3 separate regions of the Homo sapiens genome follow, and all the other regions are linked to region 3. Evidence: promoter capture Hi-C in 16 types of primary human blood cells and fetal thymus (Javierre and others, 2016). All regions are on one chromosome and are shown on one strand. Each heading gives the region's core, a stretch centred on a gene start or on the middle of the fragment in contact. The rest is flanking DNA. Distances are from core to core; before and after follow the strand shown. Region 1 holds the start of LOC124901056 (a long non-coding RNA gene). Region 2 overlaps LMNB1 (lamin B1). Region 3 holds the start of ALDH7A1 (aldehyde dehydrogenase 7 family member A1).

Region 1 (4,305 bases), core at 1,806-4,305, 230 kb before region 3:
TCATTATCACCAGTGTCAACACTCCATGGGCCTAGACTGTCAATGCTTGCCCTCCCTCTAGGATTAGGTCTTCCACAAACCACGTGCAAACACACAGCTGTTGTCCCATTGAGTAAAGCAAATCATATCTTTCACTTATATCATATGACTCCACTCAACATGAGTGAAAGTATGACCAACTCAAAGATCCTAATCTTCATTGTCATTACCATCAGTAGTATTTTCTGAATGCTTACTATGTACAGGCTTCATACTTGAAGTTTACACATATTATATCAAGTCCTCCAAACAATTTTTTGAGATAGATATTATTGTTATTCCCATTTTTACAAAAGCTCAGAGTAGTTAAATCCCTTTCTAAAGTAACAAAGCAATGAAATAATCAAGCCACCCTTTTCCAGGCAACCTGACCCCTAAACTAACACTCTAAACCATGAAATCAAACAGCCAACCACAGGAATGTGGATATATTTAATTTACACCCACACACCGGTTTTCCATACATGGTTATTCCATGTATGGAAATATGGTGACAACTGAAATTCAAGGTGATTTTACCAGACCAAGGCTTTTTTTTTTTTTTTTTTTTCTTTTTGAGATGGAGTCTCGCTCTGTTACCCAAGCTGGAGTGCAGTGGCGCGATCTCGGCTCACAAAAACCTCCGCCTTCCGGATCCAAGCGATTCTTGTGCCTCAGCCTCCAGAGTAGCTGGGATTACAGGCCACGCACCACCACACCTGGCTAATTTTTGTATTTTTAGTAGAGACGGTGGTTTCACCATGTTGGCCAGGCTGGTCTCGAACTCTTTATCTCAGGTGATCCACCCACTTCGGCCTCACAAAGTGCTGGGATTACAGGCGTGAGGCACCACACCCGGCCCAGACCAAGGCTTTTTTTATCCAAATCACAGTACTATGTGCTTAGAGTATACAAGCTAATTGTATTAATAATAGCCTAAACACAGCATAATTTATCAAATAAATCTTAAGGCACAAATATTTCTAACTTCGCTTATTTGTAGAGAAAATCTCGTTTATTTCTAAGTGTAAATTTATATTCCATGGCTCTGGAAAACTCCATTTTGAAGCTCTGTTAATCTGGTGGTTCTGGTTTGATCTTATGTCTCAATATCCAAATCCTACACCTGTAAAAACTGGAGGAGGAGGAGGAGGAGGAGGAGGAGGAGGAGGAGGAAGTAGAGGAAAAGGAGGGAGAGGAGGAAAAGGGGAATATACAGGCATGAATTCCGCACCTCCCATCCATCGAGCCTAGCATCAGTAGGCATATTAGTTTCTTATTTATGGAATCCAGAATGCTCGGATATAATAACCAAAGATTATTATCATCATTGCACAAGACTACATTCTTTGAATTATGGACCTTGTTTCATTGAAGAAAGAAAAAACTCTTATGGCCAAACTTTAATTTGTAGGGCTTAAGCAAAGAAAACTAGAGCTTCAGAAGATTTTCTTTTCTTTTCTTTTCTTTTTTTGATTTGGATTCTCACTCTGTCGCCCAGGCTGGACTGCAGTGGCGCCATCTCGGCTCACTGCGAGCTCCACCTTCCCGGTTCACGCCATTCTCCTGCCTCAGCCTCCTGAGTAGCTGGGACTACAGGCTCCCGCCACCACGCCCGGCTAATTGTTTGTATTTTTAGTAGAGACGGGGTTTCACCGTGTTAGCCAAGATGGTTTCGATCTCCTGACCTCGTGATCTGCCCGCGTCGGCCTCCCAAAGTGCTGGGATTACAGGCGTGAGCCACCGCGCCCGGCCGAGAAGACTTTCAACATTATTTCTCAATTCCCATGGAAGGATATAAAAGAGTCTCTGTGATTTTTATTTTAGTTGTATTTTATTTATTATATATTATTCATTTTGGCCACTGTGCATGTTCCTTTTATAGTTATATTTACATAAACGTCCTATTCCAGTTGTTTATCTTTGACCACCTGGTCTTTGTTTTAATTTGCACACACACAAATGAAAGCTGTGGCACAGGCTAGGAGGGCTTGGGCAGAGGCCATGTCTAAACAGTCAAAGGGCTCAGGCAGTGGCTGTGGATGGCTGCACAGCAGTCAACTGCCATTAATCTTGAAAATAAAGCTGTCAGAATTCACATTTTCTTTCAATGATCATGTACTATCAAAACCTTATTCCTATTTAAACATAAAGTCCAGCTATAACTACTTGCACATTTTGTCAGCTTTATCACAGGCAGCTCATATCAAGAAGTGAAATTCACCGGGCAAGCCCCAGCTGGCTCCAGCCCTCAGACAGGTTTAGGATGCCTCCTCCCACCAGAATCTGTTGTGTTAAAACTTGAATGCCCTGAGGGAGGCAAAAGCATTCCTTTGTTTACCACTCTCTGCTGGCTTCTGTCCCTCCCCCAGGGTTTTACTTACCTTTCCGGTTCCTAAAGGCCTTTGAGTTTGTGACCCCTGCTCTAGACTTTCAGAAAATCTCACCTTTGACACAATTTCTTATAATAAGGATTAACTCAACATCTTACATAAGAGTTCAGCCAATACTGTTTAACTACGTCAGTATGCTTCCCATAGGCTAGTAAATTGCTGCGTAACTGAAATAACCGTAACACCCGGCTGACTGGAGTAATGGGACCAACTCATCTCATTCTGCTTCCAAAGCATCGTGCATATGGCCATCGAGCTCATCTTTCATCATTTTATTTCCATTACCTACAGGATAAAGCTTGAACTAACCACACTGGCATCAAGGTTCCTTCATAATTCAGCCTCCAGATAAATGTTCACTATTCCTCTACTTCACCAACAAACTCTCCACTCTCCACTCTCACACACATACCTGGTCCATGCCCATTTATTTGTTCATGAGCACTACTCCTTTCCCTTTCTGCCTTCCCCATGACCCCACATTGAAACTCAAACCCCACATTTTCCATTAGACTTTTATAAGTCATACCAGTCTCAATTGATTTGCCTCCTTTTAACTGTAAATGCTCAATAAATACTTGTTGAATGAATGAATGAATGAATGAATGAATGAATGAATTCCAGCATGACCACATGCTTACTATTTAATTATGGCCAAGTGGTTTAACCTTTTAAAGATATAGTTTTTTTAATCTATAAAAATGTAATTTGGGCAACGATTAAATGAGATGTTATATACGAAATTATCTAGTAGAGATGCTATATTGACTCAAAAGATATTAGCTAGTACAGAGAGTCAATAAATATTAGCCTAATTCACTGCCTTTCTATCGCTTTTATTTTTAGTTAACTTTTCAGTTATGTAGACTGTTTTTTCCTAGCTTCATTGTTGAAGCAAGGACCCATTTTTTAAAACTTTTTATATCACTCGCTGCAGCTAGCAAAGAGCTTTGCTAATAAATATATATCAGTTGATTGAGTGAGTACGAGGAAAGCTTATCTATTGAAAAATAAGTTCAAAGACTGTTCACTGACACTGGAATTTCCTCCTTTAGAGACATTTTGTTCTAAGTTAGGAATTGCCCCTGTTTAATCCAAACCTGCATGAGACAGAGAGTAACAGACTACATTTCACTGACCATTAACATCTGTGCCAGTAAGAGTTGTCTTTTGTTTACAAGGAGCAGAAACTCCCATGCAGGTTGTTGCTATTGTATGAGGCATGGTGACTGGTTTAATTCAGCAATTTAATATAACAGCTTATTTAATGTCTCCAACATTTCAACTCAATTTCAGCACAGAGATAAGAGAGGAAAGAGAAATATAGACCGTGCTCTGTCAAGGAAGGACAGGGAGGAAAGCTGGGGGCGGTGCACCTTCAGAACTGTAGCATGAGGGCGCTCAGCAGTACTAAGGTGACCACCTGCCCCAGTTTGCCCAGCACTAAAGATTTCCTGGAATTTAGGGCATTCAGTGCTAAAACCAAGAAAACTCAGCAGGAAAATATTGTCCAAAATAATGTAATATCACTGAAAGACTCACTTCAAAAGTGTTCTTAGGGTCAATACAGCATGTAGAGCAGCACAGACCTGTCCCTGCCAGGTTAGCAGTTGGTTAGAGCAAAATGCTAATGAGGCCAAGGCTAAAGGTTTGCTTTGATTTCCCAGGAAACTTTGCTCTCTTCCACAATCAGAAACTGTGTACTTCTCTTAAGCCAGCCATTCTGCAATGTCACTGACTAATCACAAGGGGAACAAGGAGAGAGAGCATAGCTACTGTGGAACAAATCTTTCACTGGTGCTAGTAACGAGGGTGGAGGGACACTGATGTTTTCCTTGTGCATGAACATTTGTCGCATGAAGAAACTCATTTTCTGAACTTATTTGTTAGTAAA
Region 2 (4,115 bases), core at 400-2,899, 190 kb after region 3:
CACTGCCAGCTGAAATTTCTGGAGGTACCTTATTCTCACTTTGACACCCTTTGCCCCTGGATGTCTTTCTGTCTGTATCTGCGTGAATGTCCCTGTCCGAAGTCTCTGAGATTTTGTGTATTTTTACTTATCCCTCCTATCATATGTTTTCGGTTCATAAAAAAGCATGTGCACGTGGTAAGAATAAAATAGTATAGACTGGTTTGTAGCGAAAAACGATAACTGCACTACCTCTTTCCGGAGGCAATCACATTTATCCCTTTTTGTTTTTATTTCTTTGGATATTTAGTTATACAACTCGAAAATAATACTAAGCTTGTATTTCCCTTTCTTGGATTTACTAAGCCTTGGTTTCATCTTTTAAAATGAGCAGTCAGTTAACTCACACTATTATTTCTATGTTCCTCCAAATTTTTTGCCACTGAATTCCTTCAAATCTTAGATATCGTTGCTTGTAAGACTTGCCATTATTATGTGTACCACTAAGAAAATAAAAACATCAGGACCAACTGTGTAGGATCCATCCTGTTGGACCCATCATGATGGGTTTCATAGATATTAAAATGTCAAACAGGGCCGGGCGTGGTGGCTCACGCCTGTAATCCCAGCGCTTTGGGAGGCGAGGTGAGCGGATCACTTGAGGTCAGGAGTTCGAGACCAGCCTGACCAATATGGTGAAACCCCGTCTCTACTAAAAATACAAAAATTGGCCGGACGCGGGGGCTCACGCCTGTAATCCCAGCACTTTGGGAGGCCGAGGCGGGCGGATCACGAGGTCAGGAGATCGAGGCCATCCTGGCTAACAAGGTGAAACCCCGTCTCTACTAAAAATACAAAAAATTATCCAGACGTGGTGGCATGCATCTGTAGTCTCAGCTACTTGGGAGGCTGAGGCAGGAGAATCGCTTGAACCCAGGAGGCGGATATTGCAGTGAGCTGAGATTGCGCCATTGCACCCCAGCCTGGCGACAGAGTGAGACCCCATCTCAAAAAAGAAAAAAAATCCGGGCGTGGTGGCGGGCGTCTGTAATCCCAGCTACTGGGGAGGCTGAGGCAGGAGAATCGCTTGATATCCAGGAGGCAGAGGCTGCAGTGAGCCAGATGGTCCACTGCACTCCAGCCTGGGTGACAGAGTGAGACTCCGTCTAAAAAAAAAAATTAACACAGATCAAATATCTGTTGCGTACCAGTCACCGTTCTATGTTAGAGGATATGAAGATTTTTTTAAAAAAATGAATTACTGTTCTTTGTTGCTGAGAGTGTAGTGGGGGAGCTATATCCCAGCAAGTAAAGAAAGATTGTCTTTTGTCTGATGTGAAGCATTTTGATGCTGGCGCTTTTGTAATCTTTCCAGGAGTTAGCCACAGGAGGTTTTTCACACAGTAACAAGGCTGCCACCTGGCTGACAGTAGTTGTAAATGTATCGATTCTAAAATGCATGCTGGTTTCAGCGGGGTTAAAAAATGAGAATAATGTGTATTAGAATCAATGAAATAATGCATGTGATACAATTTAGGTAATAGCAGATGCTAAGGGAATAAAAATAAAGCGGAGTGAAGGGTTAGTGTGATTAAGGAAGGCCTGTCTGAGGAGTTGACAGTACCTATTCTCTGAGGGTTAGTAGTGTTCTGGGATTATATTTTTCTTAAGTCTGTGCTACTGTATGTATATTCCTATTGCCAGGATTAGATGACTCTTCTTTTCCCCCCAACATACCATCATTTGCTCAAAACATGCCACATTTTAGTTTGCTCCTTATTTGAATTAGGACTTTTTTTATATGGATTTATTCCTCAATAGCTTTTCATTTTTCTTGTTAAGAAAAATTTGCCCTCAGTGTGTTTGCAGACTTTTTGAAGATATTTAATCATAATATCTATCACATGAATCTGCTTTCTTCCCTAGAGTTCTCTTTGCTTAAGGTAGGCTGTGTACTGATGTCCTGTAACTTATTAAAGACAGCTTCCTGGCCAGGCACGGTGGCTCACACCTGTAAAGCACTTTGAGAGGCCTAGGCAGGTGGATCACCTGAAGTCAGGAGTTCAAGACTAGCCTGTCCAACATGGCGAGACCCCGTCTCTACTAAAAATACACAAATTAGCCGCGTGTGGTAGTGGACGCCTGCAATCCCAGTTACTGTGGAGGCTGAGGCAGGAGGCATTGCTTGAACCGGGGAGGCGGAGGTTGCAGTGAGCTGAGATCACACCACCGCACTCCATCCTGGGTGTATTTTCCTTTTCCTTGGTTTCTTCATATTTTGTTGAAGAACATCCTTAAGTAATTTATTCAGAAAGGATGGCAGGAGGTAAACTTTCTGAGTCCTGTATGTCTGAAAATAGCTTTGGGCTAGGTATAGAATACTAGGTTAACATTTTTCCAGAACTTGGAAAGTATTATTTTGCCCTATTGTCTTCTGGCATCTAGGGTTGTTAATGTCTTTCTTTTTTTTTTGAGACGGAGCTTGGCTCACTGCAACCTCCGCCTCCCAGGTTCAAGCGATGCTCTTGACCCAGCCTCCCAAGTAGCTGGGATTACAGGTGTGCACCACCACACCCGGCTAATTTTGTATTTTTAGTAGAGACGGGGTTTCACCGTGTTGGCCAGGCTGGTCTCCAACTCCTGACCTCAGGTGATCCACCCACCTCGGCCTCCCAAGGTGCTGGGATTATAGGCGTGAGCCACCATGCCTGGCCTATATTTAATTTTTTATTTGGAACTAGAGTGTTTGTAATTAAGTATAATCATCATTTAGGTAGATTTAGATTAAGAAAACAGCTTTGAGAGAATTATAGATTCCAGGTTACTTAGTTTCTTTTTGGTTCCTCAGCAAACAAGATACCTTAGAGGCAGAGCATGGAAATGCTTGGTCTAAAGAGAATTTGGCAACAGTTTCCATGCAGGTGGTGTCTGAATCCATAGAAAACAGACCTCATATGTAAGGTACAGTTACTTTGATTCAGTCCAAGACTGATTATATTTTGCTGAAAGCTTTTTTGAGAGAACAGTTTCCAAAAATGATGATGAATGCCATCACTCAACACTTTAAACAAAAAGTACAGAGAAATTGACTTGTTTCAGATTTTCACTGTTAACTATACGGGAAAACTAGATATAACAGAAAGTTAAGTGTTTACATCAGTCTTCAATAACTGATTTTGTGGATTCAGACATTTATTTTCCTTCAGTGATACAGGTCCCGTATCTTTTCTGTAAAACCCTGGGGGCCAGATGTGCTTTGGAAGTTAAAGCAATTCCAATTTAAGACGGTAATATGATGCACATACTGGATATGACACCCCCAGTGGGGTTTATAGATAGAGTTAGGGTAGATAGAGTTAGCACTCTATCATGAAACATTTCTGAGGGAAAGATATTGTCATGGCAAGTGGAGAAAGACAGATTGAAAATAGACCTGGTTTCAGGTCAGGTTTTGCCACTAAATGTGTTAATAAAAATTTTAGGTTTTCAAACTCTGGAAGTATAGATAAAAGATGGTGAATTTTTGTTTTTATTTATTTATTTTTTGACACAGAGTCTCGCTCTTTTGCCCAGGCTGGAGTGCAGTGACACAATCTCAGCTCACTGCAACCTCTGCCTCCTGGGTTCAAGCAATTCTTCTGCCTCAGCCTCCCAAGTAGCTGGGATTACAGGCACCCGCCACCACGCCCAGGTAATTTTTATATTTTTAGTAGAGACCAGGTTTCACCATGTTGGCCAGGATGGTCTTGATCTCTTGACCTCGTGATCTGCCCGCCTCTGCCTCCCAAAGTGCTGGGATTACAGGCGTGAGCCACTGTGCCTGGTCAAAAACATGCTAATCTTCTTTAGGAGTGTTTTCTTTGTACATAGGATGATTAATTGAAAAACAAAAACCTTTGGCTGGGCGTGGTGGCTCACGCCTGTAATCCTAGCACTTTGGGAGGCTGAGGTGGGAGGGTCATGAGGTCAGGAGTTCGAGACCAGCCTGACCAACACTGTGAAACCCCATCTCCATAAAAATACAAAAATCAGCCGGGCGTGGTGGTGCACGCCTGTAATCCCAGCTACTTTGGGAGGCTGAGGCAGGAGAATCTCTTGAACCCAGCAGGTGGAGGTTGTAGTGAGCCAAGATCGTA
Region 3 (4,327 bases), core at 1,171-3,670:
AAATATTTTCAGAAAAGAGTTGGGAAATCTCTAGGGTTCCCTAACATTTATGGCTGAGAATGATTCCCACAGTCTATACTTCCAAAAACTAGCTAGAACCCGGTAAAACAGGTTGGTATCCAACTATGCTTTAAAACCTTGCTTTTCAAAGCAAAATCTGTCAGCTTCATCTGGGAACATGTAAGGCATATTAGAAATGCAGAACCTTGAGCTCCAACCCAGACTTCGGAAATCAGAAGCTTCATTCTAACAAAATCCTCAGGTACTTCAGAAGCACTGCCTTAAATGGCCCCCTGCCTAATCTTTCTACGCTTCACCTTTTCTATGGTTCTTTCCTTTTCACGCCCCCACCCAAGAGAGGACAGTCTCCCCCAGACAGTCCTAAATGACAAATGAAAAATAAACACATTATTCTCTTCATTTGTGATTTTATATTATTCTTGACCTGCCTAACTGGCTTCTGCCTCTAAAGAAAGCCTGCACAAACTCCTTGTGTATAATTTGAATTAAACACACACACACACACACACACACACACACACACACTCTTACCTGTCGGACTCTTGCTATTGGCTCGTTGTTAGCAGGGCAATAGGTCGTAATAACCTTAAAACAAAAGGATGATGATCATGTATAGAAAACGTAATCCCTTTTGAAGTAAGGGAATAGACCAAACGGGGAAGAAAAACAAGAGAGGAAAAAATGATATAATACCCAAACTCAAAAAGCTTAGGTTAACTTCTGTTACATATAAACCACTCTACAGAGGTTGTCTTTCATTTCTGACTTAAACATTAGAAACTACCTTTCTGCAAAACTCGCCTCTGACATCTCAATATTAGGCATATAAACAAAAGCCTTAACATAAGCAGTTATTTTGTCTCTTTTTCCATTAATAACAGACCAAACTGACTAGTTTTAGTTATTTCTTCTCTTCCTTACTCTGCCCACCCTCTGCTCAGAGATGAAATGGCCAAGGCAGGAAAACTGTTGGAAAGTCCCGTGTCCACACCAACTGGAGAGGTCTCAGGTCAACAATGAAAGGGAAAATCAAGGCACAGCTAAAAAGGCCTCCAAGAGCCTAATGATCAGATACCACACGGAAATCAGGATGAAACACCGAGGTCTGAGGAGCAATTAAAATTATCTGTATCTCCTACAGCCACTGATTACCAAAAGACGTGTTCCCTCTACCAAGGCAGGTTCATTATATAATATACAACGTCCAACAAAGTTTGTTAACTGTTACATAACATCCTCCTATAAAAAACTTTCTTTTAAAAAAAAATCTGGGCGATAATAACCTTACCTTTCCATTGTATTCTATAAAACATTGTTTTGAGCAGTAATGGGTATCAGGCGCGGTGTTAAGCCCTGGGCAATGGAGAAATGCTGAAAATCCAGTCCTCAAAGGAGTTCACAGCCCAACGTACAACATGGCAAGATTTCGGCACGTCCAAGCTTGCAAACTCCCAAAGAATTCAGGAAGGAAGATAACTTAAAACTACACTGAAGAACGTTACCTGCGGTGCACGTCACAGCTGAAGAGCCAGAGTTAAGCTCTAAATTAAGATCAGTTGCACCGCTCAGTGTGCCACATTTCTCACAAGACCATAGATCCCAAGACCATAAGGTTTTAATTTTTTTTTTTTTTTTTTTTTTTGAGACGGAATTTCGCTCTTGTTGCTCAGGCTGGAGTGCAATGGCACGATCTCGGCTCACTACGACCTCCACCTCCCGGGTTCAAGCGATTCTCCTGCCTCAGCCTCCCTAGTAGCTGGGATTACAGGCATGCGCCACCACGCCCGGCTATTTTGTATTTTTTTTAGTAGAGACAAGGTTTCTCCATGTCGGTCAGGCTGGTCTTGAACTCGCTACCTCAGGTGATCCGCCCGCCTAGGCCTCCCAAAGTGCTGGGATTACAGGGGTGAGCCACCGCGCCCGGTAGACCATAATGTTTTAAATATGCGCGGGAAGTTTAGCCCCTACAGCTCCAAAATGACGTCGATTCTGCATAGCACACAAGGACCTAAAATCTAAGTTTTTGTTTTAAAGGCACCCTACACGAGAAAACTTTTACTGTGGAGCTTCAAAATCTCCCATGCTACTACCGCATCCAGCGCCAGCGGGGAGTCGGTAGGTCAGTGCCCGCCCGGCCTCCTCGAGCGAGCCCCGGCGGCTGCAGAGATTTCTTGAGCGCCCGCGTACCTCTCCCCGGCCTCCCCAGCTTCCATTATACACGCCCTCGTTTTCCTCGCGGAGCCCCAGCTCTTTCAGCCACGCATACTGGGGCTGATTGATGAGGAGAGTGGACATGAAGGCGGCAGGCCTGCTCCAAGGTCCAGAGAGCTTGCTGGTCTTTGCAGCGTGCACACACAGCGCGCGAGGAAGGCGCCACATACTGAGCCCGGGACTCGGGATGAGCCCAAGGCCCTGAGAGCTGCTGAAATAGAGCCCCGCCCCCCGCCCGGGAGAACCCATTGGGCAGACCCGACCCCTCCCACTGGGCACGACCCCGCCACCGCCCCGTCTGCCCCTGGTCTTCCGGAGGAGCCTGCGGCTGAATCCTGCCTGGAACAATGGGAGTGCTACAGGGAGGAGTGGGCTGCTGCCATCTGGTGAAAGACTCCGGGAGCCACAGTTCCAGCTGGGAATTCTTTTCAGCAAAATATTGGCGCTGAAGTACAGTAGGCTATAGCAGGGGTTCTGAAACTGTAAAATGCGTGTAATGACCTGGTCGTCGTGGTAAATGCACATTCTGATTCAGTAAGTCTGGGCTAGGGTCGGAGAGCCGACATTCCTAACCAGCTCCTCAGCGATGGTGACGCCTCTTGTCCCTGGAGTAGGCAACGGAGGGTTTGTATTGGGGGGCGGGGGAAGGGTTGGTTGTTTTCACTGTTTTGGTAGATTACAAATTAAAGTTTTCTAATTAATGATAAATATTAGATTGCTGCATTTCCTCTATAAATATCCTGCCTGGGTATATTCTTACTTTTTTTTTTTTTTTTTTTTTTTGGAAACGGAGTTTCGCTCTTCTTGCCCAAGCTAGAGTGCAACGGCGCGATCTCGGCTCACTGCAACCTCCGCCTACCGGGTTCAAGCGGATTCTCTTGCCTCAGCCTCCTGAGTAGCTGGGATTACAGGTGTGCACCACCACACCCGGCTAATTTTTTGTATTTTTAGGACAAACGGGGTTTCACCATGTTAGTCAGGCTGGTCTGGAACTCCTGACCTGAGATGATCTGCCCGCCTCAGCCTCCGAAAGTGCTGGGATTAGAGACATGAGCCACTGCGCCCGGCCTCTTACTTTTTTTTTTTTAAGATGGAGTCTCGCCCTATCGCCCAGGCTGGAGTGCAATGGCACGATCTCCACTCACTGCAACTTCAACCTCCCAGGTTCAAGTGATTCTCCTGCCTCAGCCTCCCCAGTAGCTGGGATTACAGGTGCACACCACCACACCAGCTAATTTTTGTATTTTTAGTAGAGACGGGGTTTCTCCCTGTTGGCCAGGCTGCTCTCGAACTCCTGACCTCGTGATCTGCCCGCCTCTGCCTCCCAAAGTGCTGGGATTACAGGCGTGAGCCACTGTGTCCGGCCTATTCTTACATTTTTTTTTTTTTTTTGAGACGTAGTCTCGCACTGTTGCCAGGGCTGGAGTCCAGTGGCGCAATCTCGGCTCACTGCAACCTCCGCCTCCCGGGTTCACGCGATTCTCCTTGCCTCAGCCTCCTGCGTAGCTGGGATTACAGGCGCCCACCACCACGCTTGGCCAATTTTTTGTATTTTGAGTAGAGAAGGGGTTTCACTATGTTGGCCAGACTGGTCTCGAATTCCTGACCTCGTGATCCGCCCACCTCAGCCTCCCAAAGTGCTGGGATTACAGGTGTGAGCCACCACGCCCAGCTCTTACTCTTAAAGAATAAAGACAGTTTTGATCAATTTCTTTCATTCTCCATTTCTGTCTTCCTACAATATCCTTTCCATTCATGCATGCCCCATCTCATTTCACAACAACTGGGCCTACCCTGTAAAACGGAAATACTAATATCTCAATCATCATTATTTGAACATGAGTTTAAAATATGCTTGCCCACGCTAGAGTGCAGTGGCAGGATCATGGCTTACTGAAGCCTCGACCTCCGAGGCTCTAGTGATCCTCCTACCTCAACCTCCCAAGTAGCTGGGACTACAGGCATGCCATCACACCCAGCTAATTTTTGAGGATTTTTTGTAGAGACAGGGTTCCCCCATGTTGCCCAGGCTGGTCCGCACCTCCTCGGCTCAAGGGATCTGCCTTGCGCCTCCCAAAGAGCTGGGATTACAGGC

What was found. The method cuts DNA at HindIII sites, captures the fragments that hold promoters and counts their contacts. A CHiCAGO score of 5 or more calls a contact.
Region 1: a contact is called between a fragment that was not itself captured here and the fragment with the promoter of ALDH7A1 in region 3, in 3 of 17 cell types (naive CD4 T cells, naive CD8 T cells and activated CD4 T cells). The highest score is 6.5, in naive CD4 T cells.
Region 2: a contact is called between a fragment that was not itself captured here and the fragment with the promoter of ALDH7A1 in region 3, in 2 of 17 cell types (fetal thymus and total CD8 T cells). The highest score is 6.5, in fetal thymus.

The regions. Positions count from the first base shown.
Region 1 is chr5:126,366,278-126,370,582 of GRCh38, forward strand. LOC124901056 (a long non-coding RNA gene) reads right to left here and starts at 4,021. Exons shown (of 9, transcript XR_007058919.1): 1 at 2,403-4,021. It also overlaps a transcript of GRAMD2B not described here. RefSeq lists enhancers at 1,132-1,873, 1,874-2,614. The HindIII fragment of the contact is 697 bases long and covers 2,708-3,404 here.
Region 2 is chr5:126,779,043-126,783,157 of GRCh38, forward strand. All of the region lies in intron 1 of LMNB1 (lamin B1), which reads left to right. Among named protein-coding and RNA genes, the nearest start is that of LMNB1, 4.0 kb to the left of the region's middle. RefSeq lists enhancers at 1,064-1,133, 1,144-1,233. The HindIII fragment of the contact is 2,673 bases long and covers 314-2,986 here.
Region 3 is chr5:126,592,799-126,597,125 of GRCh38, forward strand. ALDH7A1 (aldehyde dehydrogenase 7 family member A1) reads right to left here and starts at 2,421. Exons shown (of 18, transcript NM_001182.5): 1 at 2,209-2,421; 2 at 553-606. The coding sequence starts at 2,400. The HindIII fragment of the contact is 2,913 bases long and covers 1,460-4,327 here.